5 separate regions of the Homo sapiens genome follow, and regions 2, 3, 4 and 5 are each linked to region 1. The links are contacts of gene promoters, found by promoter capture Hi-C in blood cells and fetal thymus (Javierre and others, 2016). All regions are on one chromosome and are shown on one strand. The core of a region is centred on a gene start or on the middle of the fragment in contact, and the rest is flanking DNA. Distances in the headings are between cores, read along the strand shown.

What was found. The method cuts DNA at HindIII sites, captures the fragments that hold promoters and counts their contacts. A CHiCAGO score of 5 or more calls a contact.
Region 2: a fragment that was not itself captured here is called in contact with the fragment with the promoter of PLBD1 in region 1 in 2 of 17 cell types (monocytes and neutrophils); the score reaches 8.5 in monocytes.
Region 3: a contact is called between a fragment that was not itself captured here and the fragment with the promoter of PLBD1 in region 1, in 1 of 17 cell types (neutrophils). The highest score is 6.1, in neutrophils.
Region 4: a fragment that was not itself captured here is called in contact with the fragment with the promoter of PLBD1 in region 1 in 1 of 17 cell types (neutrophils); the score reaches 10.7 in neutrophils.
Region 5: a fragment that was not itself captured here is called in contact with the fragment with the promoter of PLBD1 in region 1 in 1 of 17 cell types (M1 macrophages); the score reaches 5.9 in M1 macrophages.

Annotation. Positions count from the first base shown.
Region 1 is chr12:14,565,511-14,569,253 of GRCh38, forward strand. It overlaps PLBD1 (phospholipase B domain containing 1), which reads right to left and starts at 2,373. Exons shown (of 11, transcript NM_024829.6): 1 at 2,072-2,373. The coding sequence starts at 2,186. It overlaps PLBD1-AS1 (PLBD1 antisense RNA 1), which reads left to right and starts at 2,222. Exons shown (of 6, transcript NR_120465.1): 1 at 2,222-2,296; 2 at 2,509-2,682. RefSeq lists silencers at 1,218-1,394, 2,134-2,243 and an enhancer at 1,639-2,320. The HindIII fragment of the contact is 11,340 bases long and covers 1-3,563 here.
Region 2 is chr12:14,251,838-14,255,831 of GRCh38, forward strand. It overlaps the pseudogene GNAI2P1. Among named protein-coding and RNA genes, the nearest start is that of ATF7IP, 110 kb to the right of the region's middle. The HindIII fragment of the contact is 4,306 bases long and covers 1-3,994 here.
Region 3 is chr12:14,268,848-14,272,672 of GRCh38, forward strand. No RefSeq gene overlaps it. Among named protein-coding and RNA genes, the nearest start is that of ATF7IP, 95 kb to the right of the region's middle. The HindIII fragment of the contact is 5,994 bases long and covers 1-3,825 here.
Region 4 is chr12:14,955,994-14,959,927 of GRCh38, forward strand. All of the region lies in intron 1 of ARHGDIB (Rho GDP dissociation inhibitor beta), which reads right to left. Among named protein-coding and RNA genes, the nearest start is that of ARHGDIB, 3.6 kb to the right of the region's middle. RefSeq lists an enhancer at 173-342. The HindIII fragment of the contact is 2,551 bases long and covers 1,373-3,923 here.
Region 5 is chr12:14,227,791-14,231,823 of GRCh38, forward strand. No RefSeq gene overlaps it. Among named protein-coding and RNA genes, the nearest start is that of ATF7IP, 140 kb to the right of the region's middle. The HindIII fragment of the contact is 266 bases long and covers 2,344-2,609 here.

The sequences.
Region 1 (3,743 bases), core at 1,123-3,622:
GTTTTTGGATAGATAGATGCATATGAGTGGATATAAAATCCATTCCAAGGGGATGGACATGCAATCCCTTTAGTGTTTACTGAATTCCTACTAAGTTCAGGGTACTGAGCTGGGTACTTCAGAGAACACATGACAAGTGAGAGGTAGCAAGTCCCAGTTCTTTACTCTTTGGTTGTTCGCAGGCTAGTAGAAGGGTAAAGACAAAGACCCAAAAAGCCTCAAGGGAAAACAGATTAATGTGGGTAGGACAAAGGAAACAGAGATCTCATCTGCTGAAATAGTGTGGCATCACCAGATGTCCTTAACACCTAGGTAAGTAAGAATCCTTTCCAGATTGCTGGGCATGGTGCTGTCAGGATCACTTCATCTCAGAAATGTCCTTACTTTCTGCCTTGGCTCCAGAACCTCCAAGCATGGAGTCAGCTTCCTGTTGGAGGAACTGTTTAAGATGCAGTTTCTTACAAGGTGGTACCTTCTTGAATAAATAGTGCTCCATCTTCAGAAAAACAACGCCTGTCTCACTCCTCAGGCTGCCCCCTCCACCTACAAAAACACTTAATCTCACTCGTCCAAAAAAACAGAAAAGGAATAAAGATTTTAGCCAGCATTCCAAACACAAAAGCTACCTCCACTTTTGGGACCCTCCCCAGCCTCCCCCAGGTACCTCTGAATGAGCTGTCTCCCTAGACTAGAAGTAGACACCAAGGCCACCTCCATAGTTTAGGCAAAGAACACAGAAAATCACGAGTCAGGAGCCTGTGGGTACATCTGATCCCACAGACTGGAAAGATTTAAGATTGAAGAGTGATAACTAAGCAAGTCTCAAAAACGAAGGCTCTTGATGATGGAAGGTAGTGTAATAAGAATCAGTACACATATTTAGGAAGGGGCATCCTCCCCCAAGCCCCACCCTACTCTTGTACAAGGTCAGCACAGAAAAGGGGATTATGAAATAAGACAAAATTAATTCTCTTATTATTACTTTAGAATTCTTTCAAGTCCCTTAGTTACAGTTCATAATCTTCACCTCCTTAGGAACGGAAATCATAAATCCAAGGCTTTTTAATTTAATTTAATTTAATTTTGGCAAAGGATGTAGATTTGCATGAATACCTGTAGAGATAAAACCTGTTTTTCCAAGAGGGAAGTAGTTAAGAAAATGCCCTCTGGCATCCCCTAACTCTGTCTTATTTGCTGTGTTATCTTTATGCGAATTACTTCTGATCAATCTCACTTTTCTCATCTGCAGAATGGGGAATATAATCCTATTTAGGATTATATATTAAAAAAAAAAAAAAAAAACTGCCGGGCGCGGTGGCTCATGCCTGTAATCCCAGCACTTTGGGAGGCCGAGGCAGGCGGATCGCCCGAGTCAGGCGTTCGAGACCAGCCTGTCCAACATGGTGAAACCTCGTCTCTACTAATAATGCACAAATTAGCTGGGCATGGTGGCTGACGCCTGTAATCCCAGCTACTTGGGAAGCTGAGGGAGGAGAATCGCTTGAACCCGGGAGGCGGAAGTTGCAGTGAGCCGAGATCACACCATTGCACTCCAGCGTCGCCCACAGAGAGCGACTCTGTCTCAACAACAACAACAAAACCAAAAGGCCCTTAAGCCCACTGCCAGGCACGTATCAAACTGACAATCGTGCAATCGTGATTTTAAGCCAAAGTCAATGTAAATTTTTAAAACACAAAACAAATGGCAAGCCGGAACCATACCTCCCTACAATCTGGATAAATATATTTAGATGCCCATTGGCTGGAGTTTTTAAGACCAGCCCAGGCTCTGTGGGCCAAGAATCGGCGCAGGAGCGAACCGATTTGTTGGCCAAGAATTCGGGCCAAAACTTGTAAAGTTGGCAGACGCACTCGCCATGCCCTTCTCAAGTGCCCTCGCTGCGCAGCCGCAGGGCTGGAGCGAGACCGCCGGCCGGAGGCGCGTTTCTCTGAGTTCACCCAGGAACCAGACGCCCGCTGGACGTCAACTCGGCCGGACGCGGGGCACGGGCGCTAACAGGCTCCTAGGAGCCTCCCCGGGCGCCCCCCGCCCAGGGCGCGCTCTGCTCACCTGCAGGTTTCGGCGGCTCCGCGGTGACTAACAACAGCGGCAGCAGCAGCAGCAGCAGCAGAAGCGGTGGCGGCTGTGGCAGCCCCGGGCGCCCGCCCGGACCGCCGCGGGTCATCGCTCCACGGCCGCGACCTTCCTCTGCGGGATCAGGCGGCCGCGGTGGCCCGCGGTGGCAGAAGTTGCAAGAGAGGCTCCTGGCCTACTCAGGGGCGCCGCCTCTCCGAGGTGGGGCGTCCTCAACTTTCCTCTTTCTTGAGCCCGGCCTGCTCCGGGCTCTGAGGGGCGAGGACGCTTCACGTGGTGGCCTGGGGCCCACCCCGCCTAGGAAAGGCGGATCCTTTACGTCTGACCCTCTAGCAACCCCTGGGCCGGTCTGGGAAAGTTCCCCAGCTGCACTTCTGGGAAATGCAGAGGCTGCCTGCCGCTTTCTTTCGCAGTTTTGCGGCCCAAGGCTTGGGCGAATCAGTTCACATCAACACCCCTACTAGCCTCTCCCTCCGGGGTCGACCATTTATCTCCAGCAGCGGACCAGGCGCCCGGGCCAGGGTGACATGCGCGCCCTGCCTACACGCAGCTCGGATCCTCTGCTGTTTCTGGAGAGGCCTCCACAGGTGCGTTTTCCTCAGCGATTAGCGTACCCCTCATTCCCAGGCTGTTTAACCTAAATCCATGCGCTGTAGCTCAGATTTTTTATCCTTTTTGCTTCCTCTTCGTTGGCTGGAGCCACCACAGGAGAGTGATTCAGACGGGGCTGACACTAGACACACTCCTACGTTTCTGTGGAGTCCCCATTTCTGTGTGGGGTCAGTTAAAAGTGACATTGTGAAGTAGTCAAAAGTTATGCCTTGGGTGATATTGTGAAGTTGGCACCGGGTGCCCTAGGTGACATTGTGAAGTAGGCAAAAGGCATTTCATTCATTCACTCAGCATTGGCTGGGCCCATCTTATACTCCAGATACCAGTGATATAAAGACAGCTAAGAGCATGCCTCACCACAGACAAAAAGAACTAAGCCAGCCGGGCGCCGTGGCTCACGCCTGTAATCCCAGCACTTTGGGAGGCCGAGGCGGGCAGATCACGAGGTCAGGATATCGAGGCCATCCTGGCTAACACGGTGAAACCCCGTCTCTACTAAAAATACAAAAAATTAGTCGGACACGGTGGCGGGCGCCTGTAGTCCAGCTACTTGGGAGGCTGACGCAGGAGAATGGCGTAAACCCGGGAGGCGGAGCTTGCAGTGAGCCGAGATCGCGCCACTCTACTCCAGCCTGGGCGACAGAGCGAGATTCGTCTCAAAAAAAAATAATAATAATAACAATAATAATTTTTTTAAAAAAGAACTAAGCCATATAGATAAACAAGTACACAGAACTTGCCATTCTACTGTGTTAGAGCTATGTTTAAGGTGCAGTGGGAGAGGGGGAAGGAGGGAACAAGCCACCTCTCAGATGGGAACCTCAGCACCCCACTCTTCCTCTTGGCCTTTCTTCTAAGCTTAACCTAGGTGTCAAGGAGAGATGAGAAGAGAGAATAAGCAGTACCTTTCATAACGGGGAAAATGTAATTGTTAGAAAAGATAAAGAACCTAAAAGTTCATCAAATCTCTGTGCAAATTGTGAAACACAAGTCACAATTTTGTGGTCCAGGCACCATGGCTCATGCCTGTAATCCC
Region 2 (3,994 bases), core at 714-3,213, 310 kb before region 1:
CTGGGTTTGTGTTTGTGTTCTGCCTTCTACTAGCTGTGTGACCTTGGGCAAGTTACCTAACTTCTCTGTGTTTCCTTGTCCCCAGCAGAAAATGGGAACAATGGGCCAGGCACAGGGGCTCACGCCTGTAATCCCAGCACTTTGGGAGGCTGAGGCGAGAGGATCACTTGAGTCCAGGAGTTCAAAACCAGCCTAGGCAACATAGCAAGACTTCCTCTCTACTAAAAATCTAAAAATTAGCCAGAAGCAGTGGTACAAGCCTGCAGTCTGAGCTACTCTGGAGGCTGAGGCAGGAAGATCACTTGAGCCCAGGAGTTCAAGGCCACAGTGAGCTATGACTGCACCACTATACTCCAGCCTGAGCAACAGACAGAGATCCTAACTATAAAAAATAAAAATAAAATGGGAACAATTGTACCTTCTCCAAAGGGTGGCTATGAGGAAAACAGTTTATATATACAATGTGGTTTATACATACTATATATACATATATATCATAACAGTAAACTGGCACAAAGTATTGCTATGTAATTGCTCTTATAATGATTATTACAACTTTATAGAGATATTTTTATAGATGAAAAAACAAAATAGATGAGGAAACCACGGCTTCAGAGCTTTGAGTTTTTCTGACCTCAATATTCGGTCTCTCAACTATTGATTACCCTGAACCAGTTAAAAGAAGTGAAAGTCAGCCGGGCGTGGTGGCTCACGCCTGTAATCCCAGCACTTTGGGAGGCTGAGGTGGGCAGATCACCTGAGGTTAGGAGTTCGAGACTAGCCTGGCCAACATGGAGAAACTGTCTCTACTAAAAACACAAATTAGCCGGGTGTGGTGACGCATGCCTGTAATCCCAGCTACTCGGGAGGCTGAGGCAGGAGAATCTCTTGAACGCCAGAGGCGGAGGTTGTGGTGAGCTGAGATCGTGCCATTGCACTCCAGCCTGGGCAACAGGAGCGAAACTCCATCCCAAAAAAAAAAAAAAAAAAAAAAAGAAGTGAAAGTCACAGAATTTTGTAGTCAGTTAGGGAAATCCTACCAGTTTCACAACGAGTCAATCAAAACCTTGCAATAAATACACAATAAAGCTGTGCTTCAAATGTCCTCCAACACCTAGCACAGCTTTTAGAACAGCTAATTTGCTTAGGTGAAGAAATGCTCCAGGCAGGGCACAGTGGCTCATGCCTGTGATCCCACCTCACTGGGAGGCAGAGGTAGGAGTCACTTGAAGCCAGGAGTTTGAGGGCAGCCAGAGCAACACAGAGAGACCCTGTCTCTGTGAAAAAATAAAAAAATAAATAGGCCAGGCATGGTGGCTCATGCCTGTAATCCCAGCACTTTGGGAGGCCCAGGCGGGTGGATCATTTGAGGTCAGGAGTTCAAGACCAGCCTGGTCAACATGGCGAAAGCCCATCTCTACTAAACATACAAAAATTAGCCAGGCTTGGTGGTAGGCACCTGTAATCCCAGCTACTAGGGAGTCTGAGGCAGGAGAATCGCTTGAACCAGGGAGGTGGAGGTTACAGTGACCAGAGATTGCACCACTGCACTCCAGCCTGGGCAACAAAGTGAGACTCTGTCTCAAAAAAAAAAAGAAAAATAGAAAAAAATAACCAAGTGTGATGGTGCATGCCTATAGTCCCAGCTACTCTGGAGGCTGAGGTGAGAGGATCACTTGAGCCCAGAAGTCAAGGCTGCAGGGAGCCAGGATCAGGCCACTGCACTCTAGCTAGCATCAGTGACAGAGTGAGACCCTGTCTCAAAAAAAAAAAAAGCCCCAAAGACATTACTCTTGTGTTGGGCTGAAATCCAGTGAATTGGTGGCCCCTCTCTCTCTCTCTCATCTGAAGGTTTTCAGAGATGCAAATTGCCTACTTGAAATTCTGTGGCATTAGACTTCTGCTTGGATGAGTCCCTGGCCAGGAGTAGAATCTTTTTTTTTTTTTTTGAGACTGAGTCTTGCTCTGTCACCCAGGCTGGACTGCAGTGGCACGATCCCAGCTTAGTGCAACCTCTGCCTGCCGGGTTCAAGCGATTCTCCTGTATCCCCTCCCTAGTAGCTCAGATTACAGGCACCCACCACCATGCCCAGCTAATTTTTATATTTTTAGTAGAGACGGGGTTTTGCCATGTTGGCCAGGCTGGTCTCAAACTCCTGACCTCAAGCGATCCACCCACCTCAGCCTCCCAAAGTGCTGGGATTACAGGCGTGAGCCACCTCGCCCAGCTAGGATCCATTTTTTTTTTTTTTTTTTTTTTGGGACAGAGTCTCGCTCTGTCACCCAGGCTGGAGTGTGGAGTGCAGTGGCGCGATCTCGGCTCACCGCAACCTCCACCTCTTGGGTTCAAGCAATTCTCCTGCGTCAGCCTCCTAGTAGCTGGGACTACAGGTGCATGCCACCACACCCAGCTAAGTTTTTGTATTTTTAGTAGAGGTGAGGTTTCACTGTGTTAGCCAGGATGGTCTCAATCTCCTGACCTCATGATCGGCCCACCTTGGCCTCTCAAAGTGCTGGGATTACAGGCGTGAGCCACCATGCCCGTTGTGTGTGTGTGTGTGTGTGTGTGTGTGACACGAAGTTTCAATCTTGTTGCCCAGGCTGGAGTGCAATGGCATGATCTCAGCTCACTGCAACCTCTACCTCCCGGGTTCAAGCAATTCTCCTGTCTCAGCCTCCCGAGTAGCTGAGATTACAGGCGCCCGTCACCACCCCTGGCTAATTTTTGTATTTTTAGTAGAGATGAGGGTTTCTCCATGTTGGCCAGGCTGGTCTCGAACTCCTGACCTTCGGGTGATCCACCCACCTCGGCCTCCCAAAGTGCTGGAATTACAGGCATGATCCACCAGGCCTGGCCGCCAGGATACTCTTTTAAAGGAGGAATTGGTAAATCCTTTCCCTCTGGTGATAGGGACAGTTTTGATAAAGATGGAAGGGGGAAAACCATGTGCATGACTCCAGACTCAGAAACCAAAACCCAAGTTGAATTCCATCTCAGAGTAAAATCAAGTACTACAGATGAGAAAACACAGACGGTAAGAATTATAAGACTAGTGTGTCTTTTCTTAGGGGATAAAAGCTGTTTGACAGCATCTGCAACAAGTGGTTCACAAACACGTCCATCATCTACTTCCTCAACAAGAAGGAGCTGTTGGAGGAGAAGATCACACACAGCCCCTGACCATCTGCTTCCCTGAGTACACAGGGTCCAACAAGTATGATGAGGCAGCCAGCTACAACCAGAGTAAGTCTGAGGACCTGAATAAGCACAAAGACACCAAGGAGATCTACACACACTTCACATGCGCCACCGATACCAAGAACGTAGTTCGTGTTTGATGCCATCACCGACGTCATCATCAAGAACAACCTGAAGGACTGGGGCCTCTTCTGAGGGGCAGTGGGACCTAGCAGGATGGGCCACCACCAACTCTGTACCCCCCAACCCCTGAGGAAGATGGGGCAAGAAGACCATGGTCCCCACCTGTTCCCTGGACACTTTTCTCTTCTTTCCTTTGTTCTTAGCTCCCCCATCCCCTCAGCTTCAGACATAGGGGAGGGGTTGCCACAGGCCTCCCTGTTTGAAGCCTGCCCTTGTCTGAGGTGCCAGTAATGGCCATGGTACCCCCTTTCTGGGCATCTTTCTGGTACCCCCCAGAAGCTGTGAAGATTCTATTCTACTCAGTAGCTCTCATTATGTAAAGAGGAACCCTGAAATAAATCAGTTGTTCCTGAAAGTTCACAAGAGTAAGAAAACAGACTGAATCGTAAAAGAACTAACTGGTATAAAAGAAGAAGCCAGAAAGTAGTGGACTGGGACCAGAGAAATAATATTTGAATTTAATTAATCTGTTCAACAAATATTTGCTCCTTGCTAACATTTTGCCAGGTCCTATGCTTGTTATACAGTTTTGATCAGACAGACACGGCCCAAGGGTACTTAGAAAGCTAGTTGCGGGTGAAGGGGGAGAGCCAATGTACAAGAAAACAAATA
Region 3 (3,825 bases), core at 677-3,176, 300 kb before region 1:
GGGCGAAAGAGTGAAACTCTGTCTCAAAAAAGAAAAAAAGAAAAAGAAAAACAAGCTGTATTCTTCCCACCTTGGGCACATGTCATCAGGACTTCCTGAGGCTGTGTCACAGGTGCACATCCTTAACTTTGGCAAAATAAACTTGCTAAATTGACTGAGACCTATCTCAGATATTCAAGGTCCGCAAGAACAAACAAATAACCAGTCTGATAAGTCGTAAGAAAGTTACACTCTGTCACATGGACCCTAAAAAGGCCAAGACACTCACTCGCCTTCCCAAGAAGAGTCTCTGTAGAGACTCAATGGTAAACCTGTAGGCAGTCAAGAGTCTCCTGTCCTCAAACACCTAGCAAGCAGTGCTATATGAAGGTACTAGGAAACTTTAACTAGGAAACTTTAAACAATTGAAGATTCTCGACTTCAGATAAGGGATAGGAACAAAAGCAGTACTGATAATATTGAAATACTGTTTTGTGATTGCATTTGATAGTGGGGAAAAGGACATATGAAACCCTCCAGACTTTTTCTCTTGGTGCCCTAAAACTTCTGGCTCATTGAGATTAAAAGGATCAAAATGCAATCTTATCCAGGGATAAAAGGCATTTTTACAATTGGAACTCTAAAATAGTATGTCATCCACTTTAGGACAAAGTGGATGGAGAGAATAAGGCATAATATCAAATACAAGTCCCCCAAATAGAAAGTTACAAGGGTGGACAGAATGTGGAAAAAAACTAAGACAAACCAAATGAGAACAAGCAAATTCTATTTATTCAGAGATTGCTATAGCTAGGGAGTCAACCACTGTCACTTGTATTTTGGCAGACACTCCAAGGCAGGCAGAGGAGTAGGAAAGTTTTATTGTAGGAAAAAGGAAAGGCTTCAACTATGCCCCAGTTAGAGGCTGTTGGCATGAGGAAGCTGTAAGCAGGCAAACTAGAAACAGGAATTCCTATGTGATTGGTTAGGGGTACACATTTGGCTTTCTCTGATTTTTTTTTTTTTTTTTTTTTTTTTGAGACAGAGTCTCACTCTGTCCTCAGGCTGGAGTACAGTGGCGCAATCTTGGCTCACTGCAACCTCTGCTTCCTGGGTTCAGGCGATTCTCCTGCTTCAGCCTCCTGAGTAGCTGGGACTACAGGCGTGCGCCACCATGCCCAGCTAATTTTTGTATTTTTTTTTAGTAGAGACTGGGTTTCACCATATTGGCCAGGCTGGTCTCAAACTCCTGACCTCAGGTGATCCACCTGCCTCAGCCTCCCAAAGTGCTGGGATTACAGGCATGAGCCACTGCACCCATCCGGTTTCCTCTGATTGGTCCTAATTTGGAAGCAGGGACAAAAATTAGAAAAGCGGTCAGTTATTAATCAAGTCCTGGCCATATTGGCTTGTTGTCACAGGAAACAACTGTTATTGTTTGGCCTCTTAGACTGTCACTAAAGATCTGTGACTCCCAACAAATCTGACTTACAGCAGACTGTCTCACTGGTTGGCTATTGAAAATAAGTGATTAGTTTCCTGGATAGGTTGCTGCATGTTGTCAATGAAGGAAGGAAGAACTTTACCCTCTTATGTTATTAGGTACCTGGGGCCTGCAAATTAAACTGACAAATATTACAACAGGAAAAACATATACAATTTCATTTGGTGTTAATGTTTTTATATGGCATGGAGGGCTTCACAGAGAAGATGTGAAAACCTCAAAACATGTGGATAGAGAGGTTTATATACCATTTTAACAAAAGGCAATAAATTGTGAAGACATAGGTAGATAAAGGACAGGGGTTTGGGCTTCTACAGGTGGTAAGTTTTTGGAAAGTACCTAGGAAGTATATGAGGAAAACTAATGGAAGATAAGGGCTATATTAATAAGGTTTGTTTGTGCAGACAAACAATCAGTGTCAATTCTCCATTTCCATTGATAAGAATGTTTTCTTTCTGGTTATGGGAGAGCACCTTTCTCATGGGAAATGTATGTCAGGCCAGGTGTGGTGGCTCACACCTGTAATCCCAGCAGTTTGGGAGGCCAAGGCAGGCAGATCACGAGGTCAGGAGATCGAGGCCATCCTGGCTAACACAGTGAAACTGTGTCTCTACTAAAAATACAAAAAATTAGCCAGGCATGGTGGCCGGTGCCTGTAGTCCCAGCTACTCAGGAGGCTGAGGCAGGAGAATGGCGTGAACCTGGGAGGCGGAGCTTGCAGAGATGGCACCACTGTACTCCACCCTGGGAGACAGAGTGAGACTCCATCTCGAAAAAAAAAAAAAAGAAAAAGAAAAAAAAAGAAAAGTGAAGGTCAAGAGGCCATTTGCTGTTTTTCAATTGCCTTCAGTTCAAAATAATCAATATGCTAAAGCAGCGTATTTGGGGGCAACATGTTCTGATCCCCTTCATGGGTCAGAGTTCTGTTGTTATCTATGGTTCAGCCACTGCCCATTTGTATTTCAACTTCAAATTGCAGTCTTTCGATTCCAAATTGCAGATGTACACTTGAGATCACACTCCTTCAGACATGAGCCTGCCCCAGAATGAGGCAGTGAGAATTTACTTACTTTATGATGGCTAATGATTCTTTTGAGCAGACAATTATTTTAGCCAATAATTTTAGCCAATTATTTTGGGTGAGATTAAATAGTAATAAGAAGAAAGCAATGTCACCAACCATTTTCCCTAAGATATGGTGGAAAAAATGATGGTTGCTTCATAACCCTGCAAGGAGTATCTGAATTTCCCAAATTGACACCTGACACCACGTATGCATCCCTTTTTTTTTTTAAACAGGGTCTCACTTTGTCACCTAGGCCAGAGTGCGGTGGCATGAACACAGCTCACTGCAGCCTTGACCTCCTAGGCTCAAGCGATCTTCCCACCTCAGCCGCTTAGTAGCTGGTACTACAGGAATGCACCACCACACCTGGCAAGTTTTTGTATTTTTTGCAGAGATGAGGTCTCACTATGTCACCTAGACTGGTCTCGAACTCCTGGGCTCAAGAAATCCACCTGCCTCAACCTCCCAAAGTACTGGGATTATAGGTTTGAGCCACCATGCCTGGCCCCCCATATGCACCCCTAATGGATAGAATTTGAAACTTGAAAAAATGGAGAAATTTAGCCGATTATTTTGGGCAGGAGTGCTTTCCCCATAATTAGGCTGTCTTCTGCCAGATTCTTTTAGGAGCCAACCCTAAGCAAAAGGTTTAAATGTAAGTAGTTTGAGTGGTGATCATAGGAAGCACTGACAGGGGAAAGGGGCAGTAAGACAGGGAAGTGAGGGAAGCCTAGACCATTACGTTACCAATGGGGGCAACCGAGGGTCAGTCATGCTGGGAACCTGTGGGAGCTGTCCCACCTGAGGGGAAGAGGAAGCTGGAGTTTGTCCTCTAATTACTATCAGTCATTAGTTTATAGTTGCTTCCAGGAGTGTTAACTCTACAGCGCTGAGGACTTTCTCTACACCTGAACTGAGGAAAAGCCCTCGGGCAGCATCATGTACTAGCAGTAGGATACCGTCTGCACATATAGAAACAGTAAGTATTGCAGGGATATGAGCATGGTACTGACAGGATCTTCCACACTGGCCAAAAAAATGAGGACTCTGATTCCCTATAAAGTACTGAGATCTAAGAGAATCCAAAAATGTATGATAGCAACTGTCCATATCGCTGACATTCTTTCTTCCTTCCCTGTGGGTAGATGTTTAGTAAATCCCGAAAATGTTCCCTAGGTCTGACTTCATTTTCTTTTCTTTTCTTTTTTTCTTTCTTTTTTTTTTTTTTTTTTGAGACAGAGTCTCCCTTTGTTGCCCAGTGCTACTGGCGAATCTC
Region 4 (3,934 bases), core at 1,398-3,897, 390 kb after region 1:
TTTCCAGACCAGGAAACTAAAGTTCACGTTAAGTAACTTGCCTAAGAAGACATACCACGTGGTAGGCAGAATTAATGTCTGCGCCCAGGTTGTCTGACTTTTAGGCACTATGCTTTATTGCTTCAGTCATCTTTAAGAAGTTATAATAAAATTAGAGTTTGTTAGTCATCTTGGGAATCTACCTGGAGGTGCACAAGCAGAGGTAAATGCTTCTTTGCAAGCTCTGCAGAGACAGCTTTAACAAAGCAGGGAAGTGTCAGATAACGATGTTTCAGCGCAACTCGGTTCCTGCGTTACCTCCTGCAAGTTGCTTAACCTCACTGGGCCCCAGTTTCATCCTCTGCAAAAAGAAGCCGTGGCATGAGAGGATCTCTGAGGCCCCTTCTTAATTTAATGACTCAAATGCTCCCTAATTTAAAGAAGCTTGTGAAATGAGAAAAGAAAAGAGGAAGTAAAAGGGAGATTGGGGAGGACTCAGCCCATCAGCATAGAATCTTCTGGATGGGCTTTCCTCACCTTCCTCAGCTGCTCATCCCCTATTCTACAAAGGGCAGAGCTGAGTTTTGCTTATTTTTGACTTTGGTCCTTTGCACAGGAAAAATGAAATGGAGAATGAACAGTTATATGTTTAACCAGGTTAATGTGGACCCCATTTATTAGGCCCCAAAGCACATATCATTTTTTCACACAGGCTTGCTACTCTAGTTTTCTGTATTTTCTGCTTCACAGATGCGCATACAGATTAACTTTCACATTGGAGGCCTCACATCCTCATGTTTGCTACTCAGCAAAGCACTGGCAAGCATTAGATGTGCTGAGATGGGGACTTAATCTTCTCAGGCTCAATTAAAATGTCGAATTAAATTAGGATGGTTACTCACAGCATGCATATGACATAGCACACATCAATGTTTTTGCTTGCAAATTCAGTGAAATTTCCAAGACTTTGAAAGTGAATTACACTTAAAAATTTACACCCATGTCAGGATAGAGCATCATCTGTTTCATTAATGCAGCTCTAAATGAACTGAGGACAAGAAAAGGTAGAACTCCTGAGTTTAGATTAAACAAATTACCTGGGTAATTCAGAGAAAGGTGACTTTCATGTCTCATAGAACATAGATTGAGTCAGATGGACCAGGGATTCAAAACCAGGCTCTGCATTATGACAGGACTCAATCAAGTTGCTAATTTCACTGAGCCTCAGTTTTATCACCACTAAAATGGGGATATTCTTTTTTACGGGGTTGAAAGATTGGAGAAAACACATGAAAAATTATAGGACTATACTGGTCAAGAATAGATGTTCCGTGAATATTTGTTCCCTTCCTCTTCTTCCTTCCCTGCCCCAGTGTGGTCTGCTTTGTTGCAAAGCTTCACTGAAGCTAGGTAACTGTTTCCACACCAAATACTTTCCCCTGGATGGGAGCTATGTCCCCACTCCTTCCTCCTTAAAAATAGATTTTTGTCTTTGAGGAGTATTAAAGAGATAAGAAGTTCTGGGGAATTGAAAGGATTGTTTAAAAACTGAATCAACCTTAAAATGAGACTATATTATATTTCTTTTAAAAACTTTCATGTAAACAATTTAATTTTAGGTTTTATTTATTGCTCCCTGTCTTCATTGAAGCCAGAGGTCACTCTGCGAATGATGAGAAATGTCAGTGAACACAGGCACAGCTAATGAAGAGAATTCCCTCTGGCTCTGGAGCAAAATACCACAGAGACTTAACTCACGGCCCAAAGCTGGATCTGCAAAATTGTGCTGGATTATGCATCTAGACACACAGGCCATGGATATTAATGTATTAGGTAGAAGAGATAGCGATGAGAGAGAGAGAAGGAAGAGGGGAAAGAGGGAGAGAGAAAGAGGAGAGAGAGAGGAGGGAGAAGGGAGAAAGAGAGAGAGGGAAGAGAGAGAGAAAAGTGGAAATACCAGAAGTAGGGGATTTCTATCAGAGAAGTTCCTATGTGAGCATCAGCATTCTCTGTAACTCCTGCTACCTCCACTTTCCCTGCTGACTAGGATATGTCTGACTTCCCCCAAATCGGGCTGTGGGTCTAGTGCAGGTCTGGAGAGTCAGGCCATCTCTAAAACACTGTTGACATTTCAGAGCTAGTCAAGGATTTGAATGTGCTGTGCTGCTTGCCTGGCAATTTGGTGTATTACGGGATTGCAAATTTGTCTCTCAGGACACCAGAAGCCTTCTTGGTTCGGGATTCCACCCTCTCCCCACCGCCCCTGTCCCTGGTGACATGGAGGAATCCATACTCCCCACTTTGCGGTGCTGCTTTCTACCACCTCAGCCCCATGAAGGACTACGAAAACTTCAAAACTGGATGAGAAAAACCAAAGACAAGATTATTTTGTAAGAGACAATAAATATTGTAATCAATCCAGAGAAGGGCACAAATTACTAGAAACGTAATTTCTTACCATTTGTCTTTGTGAGAGAAACAATTTATTATTTCTTGCCTGTGCATTTTTTAGTGTGTTTTTCTAACCCACATTCATATGCACAAAGAGAGAGAACTCAAAGAGATCCCGTGAGCTTTGCTGAGTGCCCAACGTGTGAAGTCATGCCACCAAGTACCTTCACAAATATTATTTTAAATAATTCTCAAAGAAAACTGTGCATTAAGGAAGCCATTGCCTTCAGTATCTCAATATATTCACAAAAGTTTTAAATTAGCATGAAAAGTTAGACAGAATTGAGAGAGAATTTTTTTTATGACCGTTTGTGCTAAGATTATTAGGCTCTTTAAGAAAGCCCAAGTGAATTTTTACCAGCGGTAAAATTCACTCTTTGGCTGTGGACACCAGAGAGTAACACAACACAGGATGATTCAGGATGTGCTTATTGCACAGATAAATGTTGCTGACGTTTCAGGGGCAACATGAGACTCATCTCTGGGTATGCCAGTGTAGCCTTGAATACAGGATCCCGGGCAGCAATAACACAAACCAGGAATAAGAACTCTCAAAATATGGAATTGGAGAAAATTTCTTCCATGTGATTCTTCCTAAAGAATGTGGGAGATCACCTGAGCCTCAGGAGGTCGAGGCTGCAGTGAGCTGCGTTCACGCCCCTGCACTTCAGCTCGGGTGACAGAGTGAGACTTGTCTCAAAAAAATAATAATAGGCCATGCATGGTGGCTCACGCCTTTAATCCCAGGACTTTGGGAGGCCAAGGCAGGCGGATTGCTTGAGCCCAGGAATTCAAGACCAGCCCTGGCAACATGGAGAAACCCCGTCTCTACTAAAAATGGTAAAATTAGCCAGCGTGGTGATGCGCGCCTATAGTCCCAGCTACTCGGGAGGTTGAGGCGGGAGGATCACGTGAGCCTCCTGAGTAGGTAGGACCACAGGCACGCACCACCATGCCCTGTGAATTGCAATTCAGAGGCATTGTGGCTATTGATCCTTTTTGTATCAGTATGTAATTTTAGTCAAATTATTGAACACTTCTGCATTCTTCTCAGGAACAAAATTTGAAAGTTTTTATCACCAGGCCTGACACATAGAAGGCACTCAATGAATGTTGGTTCTCCTTTTCTATCTGCATAATTTCGACTCCCCAGGGCTTCTCTTTTCCTGCTAGCTGATGTTTGTCATGTACTGTGCTCTCCCAAATCAGCTCAGACCCGTATCTTTCCCTCAGAATGACTTTGTGGTGCTGAGTGTCTACTGAAAACAGAACCTTAATGTTGCTCAGAGCTAACTTCCCTAGGGGACAAACTCATGCTCTCCAAAGCAAGGAAGGACCAAATTCCAGTCGAGGCCTGAAAAATGCTTGCCAGTTTCTGTTCAGTGACAGCATAGTTAGTCCTCAGGTTTTGCATCTGTGAAGCATGGATGGAGAAAGAACTGTCTCTTAGAATTTCACACATCTCACAAAAGAGTAAGATGCTCTTGTTACTAAGCTTGTGCTA
Region 5 (4,033 bases), core at 1,227-3,726, 340 kb before region 1:
ATTAGGGTCTTCTCTCATTTTTTCTCAGTCTAATTAAAAGTTTGTCTAATTTTTTTATCTTTTCATAAAACCAACTTTTTGATTTATCGATCCTTTGCATTTTTCTAGTCCCAACTATGTTTATTTCTGCTCTAATTTTTATAATTTCTTTCCTTCTACTAATTTTGACTTAGGCTTCTTCTTGCTTTTCTAGTCTCCCAAGCTACATAATTAGATTGTTTATTTAAAAAATTTCTAGTTTTTTGACATAGCTGTTTATTGCCATCAACTTCCGACTTATTCCTGTTTGTTTTTGTTTTTGTTTTGTTTTGTTTGTTTGTGAGACGGAGTCTTGCTCTGTCGCCCAGGCTGGAGTGCAGTGGCGCGATCTCTGCTCACTGCAAGCTCTGCCTCCCAGTTCACGCCATTCTCCTGCCTCAGCCTCCCAAGTAGCTGGGACTACAGGCGCCCGCCACCACACCTGGCTAATTTTTTGCATTTTTAGTAGAGACAGGGTTTCATTGTGTTAGCCAGGATGGTCTCTATCTCCTGACCTCGTGATCCACCCGCCTTGGCCTCCCAAAGTGCTGGGATTACAGGCATGAGCCACCGTGCTCTGTTTTTTATATCTCCCATAGGTTTTGGTATTTTGTGTTTCTATTTTCATTTGATTCAAAAAATTTTTAATTTTCTTCTTAATTTCTTTATTGTCCCATTGGTTATTCAGAAGCATGTTATTTCATTTCCATGTATTTGTACACTTCCTAAAGTTACTCTAGTGATGGATTTTTAATTTTATTCCATTGTGGGCAACATGGATACTTGATATGATTTCAATTTTTAAAAATTTGTTGAGATTTGCTTCGTAGCCTAACATATGGCATGTTCCATGTGCTGATGAGAAAAATGAGTTATTCTGCAACTATTAAATAAAATATTCTGTAAATGTCTGTTAGGTCCATTTGGTCTATGGTGCAGTTTAAATCCGGTGTTTCTTTGTTGATTATCTGTCTAGATAATCTGCCCAATGCTGACAGTGGGGCATTTAAGTCCTCAACTATTATTGTATTGATATCTATCTCTCCCCCTAAATCTAATGATATTTGCTTTATATATCTGAGTGCTCCAGTGTTGAGTACATATTTATTTAGAATTGTTATATCCTCTCACTGAATTGATCCCTTTATTATTATATAATTACCTTCTCTGTATCTTTTTATAGCTTTTGACTTGAAGTCTGTTTAAGTCTGATACAAGCATAGCTGCTCTTGTTTATTTTTGGTTTCTGCTTGCATGGAATATCTTTTTTCATCCCTTCACTTTCAGTCTATGTGTGTCTTTGTAGGTGAAGTGAGTTTCTTGTAAGCAGTATATAGTTGAGTCTTGATATTTTTTTATCTATTCAGCCAGCCTATATCTTTCTAATTGGGGATTTAATGTTTACATTCAAGATTTTGTTTTTCGTTCAAGATTATTGATAAGTAAGAAAAAAACTCCTGACATTTTGTTAATTGTTTTCTGGTTGTTTTAGATTTCTTTTCTTCCTTTCTTCCTCTCTTATTGTTTATCTTTGTGATTTGGTGGTTTTCTGTAGTGATGAGGTTTGATTCCTTTCTCTTTCTCATTTGGATAACTGTTCTACCTGTGAGTTTTATACTTTCACGTGATTTCATGATGGCAGTAATCATCCTTTTCCTCCAAACGTAGGACTTTCTTAAGCATTTCTTATAAGGCTAGTCTAGTGATAATCAATTCCTTCAGCTTTTGCTTGTCTGGTGATGTAGTTTAAATGTGTGTCCCTGCCCAAATCTCATGTTGACTTGTAATCCCATGTTAGAGGTGGGGCCTGGTGAAAGGTGACTGGATCATAAAGGCAAATTTATCATGAATAGTTTATCACTATCCCCTTGGTGTTGTCCTCAGTAGTGAGTTCTCTTTTTTTTTTTTTTTTTTTTTGAGACGATGTCTTGCTCAGTCGCCCAGGCTGGAGTGCAGTGGCGTGATCTTGGCTCACTGCAAGCTCCGCCTCCTGGGTTCACGCCATTCTCCTGCCTCAGCCTCCCAAGTAGCTGGGACTACAGGGGCCTGCCACCACACCCAGCTAATTTTTTTTTTTGTATTTTTTTAGTAGAGATGGGGTTTCACCGTGTTAGCCAGGATGGTCTCGATCTCCTGACCTTGTGATCCACCCACCTCAGCTTCCCAAAGTGCTGGGATTACAGGCATGAGCCACCACACCCAGCCAGCAGTAAGTTCTCATGAGATCTGGCCCCTTAAAAGTATATGGCACTTCCCCACCTTCTCTTGCTCCTGCTTTCTCCTTGTAATGTGCCTGCTCCTTCTTTGCTTTCTGCCATGATTGGAAGCTTCCTGAGGCCTCCCCAGAAGCAAGATGCCACTATGCTTCCTGTACAGCCTGTAGAACCATTAGCCCATAAAACCTCTCCTTTTATAAATTACCCAATCTCAGGTACTTCTTTGTAGCAATGCAAGAACGGCCAAATACACCTGGGAAAGTCTTTATTTCTCCTTCATTCTGAAGGATAACTTTGGTGGGTATAGTATTCTTTGCTGGCAGTTTTGTTCTTTCACCACTTTGAATATGTCATCCTATTCTCTCCTGGCTTGTAAGCTTTCTGCCAAGGAATCTGCTGTTTCTCTAATGGGGATTTCCTTGTGTGCAATAACACTTTTGTCTTGCTGTTTTTAGAATTATTTGTCTTTTTGACAGTTTTACTATAATGTGACTTGAAGGGGACCTTTTTGGGTTGAATCTATTTGGGAAACTTTGAGCTTCCTGGATTTAACATCTATATCTCTCCTAAGATTTGGGGAGTTTTCAGCTGTTATTTCATTAAATGGGTTTTTCTATATCTTTTCCCATTTCTCCTTAAACATCCATAGTGTAAATATATGTTCACTTAATCATGCCTCACAAGTCCCTTAGGCTGCTTTCTTCATTCTTTTCTTTGTTTTAAAGACAGAGTCTCTGCTACCCAGGCTGGAGTGCAGTGTATGATTATAGTTTACTGCAGCCTCAAACTCCTGGGCACAATGATCCTTCCACCTTAGCCTCGCAAGTAGCTGGGACTGCAGATGCATGCAACCACACCTGGCTAATCTTTTTCCCCCAGAGATGGGGTCTGACTTTGCTGCCCATGCTGGTCTCAAATTCCTAGGCTCAAGCAATTCTCCCACATCAGCCTCTCAAGTAACTAAAATTACAGGCATGAGCCCATGTGCCCAGATTTTTCTTTTTAACTTTTTATTTTTGGTGGTCTGACTGGGTTATTTCAAAAGTCTTTTTGAATTCTTTCAAAAGAGTTTCAGAAATTCTTTCTTCTGCTTGATCTACTCTATTGTTGAAGCTCTCAACCATATTTTTTATTTGTTAAATTCTTCAGCTCCAAATTTTCTGTTTGGTTTCTTTTTTTGATATCTATTTATTTGTTGAATTTCTCATTCAGATCGTGAATTTCTCTCCTAATTTTGTTAAATTGTCTATCTGTATTCTTTTGTATCTCACTGAGTTACCTTAAGATCATTATTTTGAATTTCTTTTCAGGCATTTCATTGATTTCCTTTTCTTCAAGTCTGTTACTAGAGAATCATTGTGTTCCTTTGGAGGTGTCATCAGATCAGCCCAAGGAACATCTCACCAATTTCAAATCAGGAAGCGGTCTCTTCACTCTCTTCTCCAGCCTCTCTTGCTACCCTTCAGTCTCCCTATCCTTCCAATTCCAGTTCTTTTCCTTTCTAGTAGAGACAAAGGAGACACATTTTATCTGTGAACTCAAAAACTCCAATGTCCGTCACAGATTTGGGAAGACAGTCTTCCCTTGGTGTTTGATCATAGCGGGGACGCCTGCCTTCATCATTCACCCACACTCCCTTGGTGGCAGGTCAATTGCAGGGACACCTGCTTTGGCTGCTCACCCACATTACAGCCCAGGACTCAGTCAGGGACGCATACTGGAAGCCTGGTATCTGCCCACCTCCATTTCTCCGTGTCTCTACCTTCCTCTTTAAACTTACCTTCTCCACTATGGGCAAC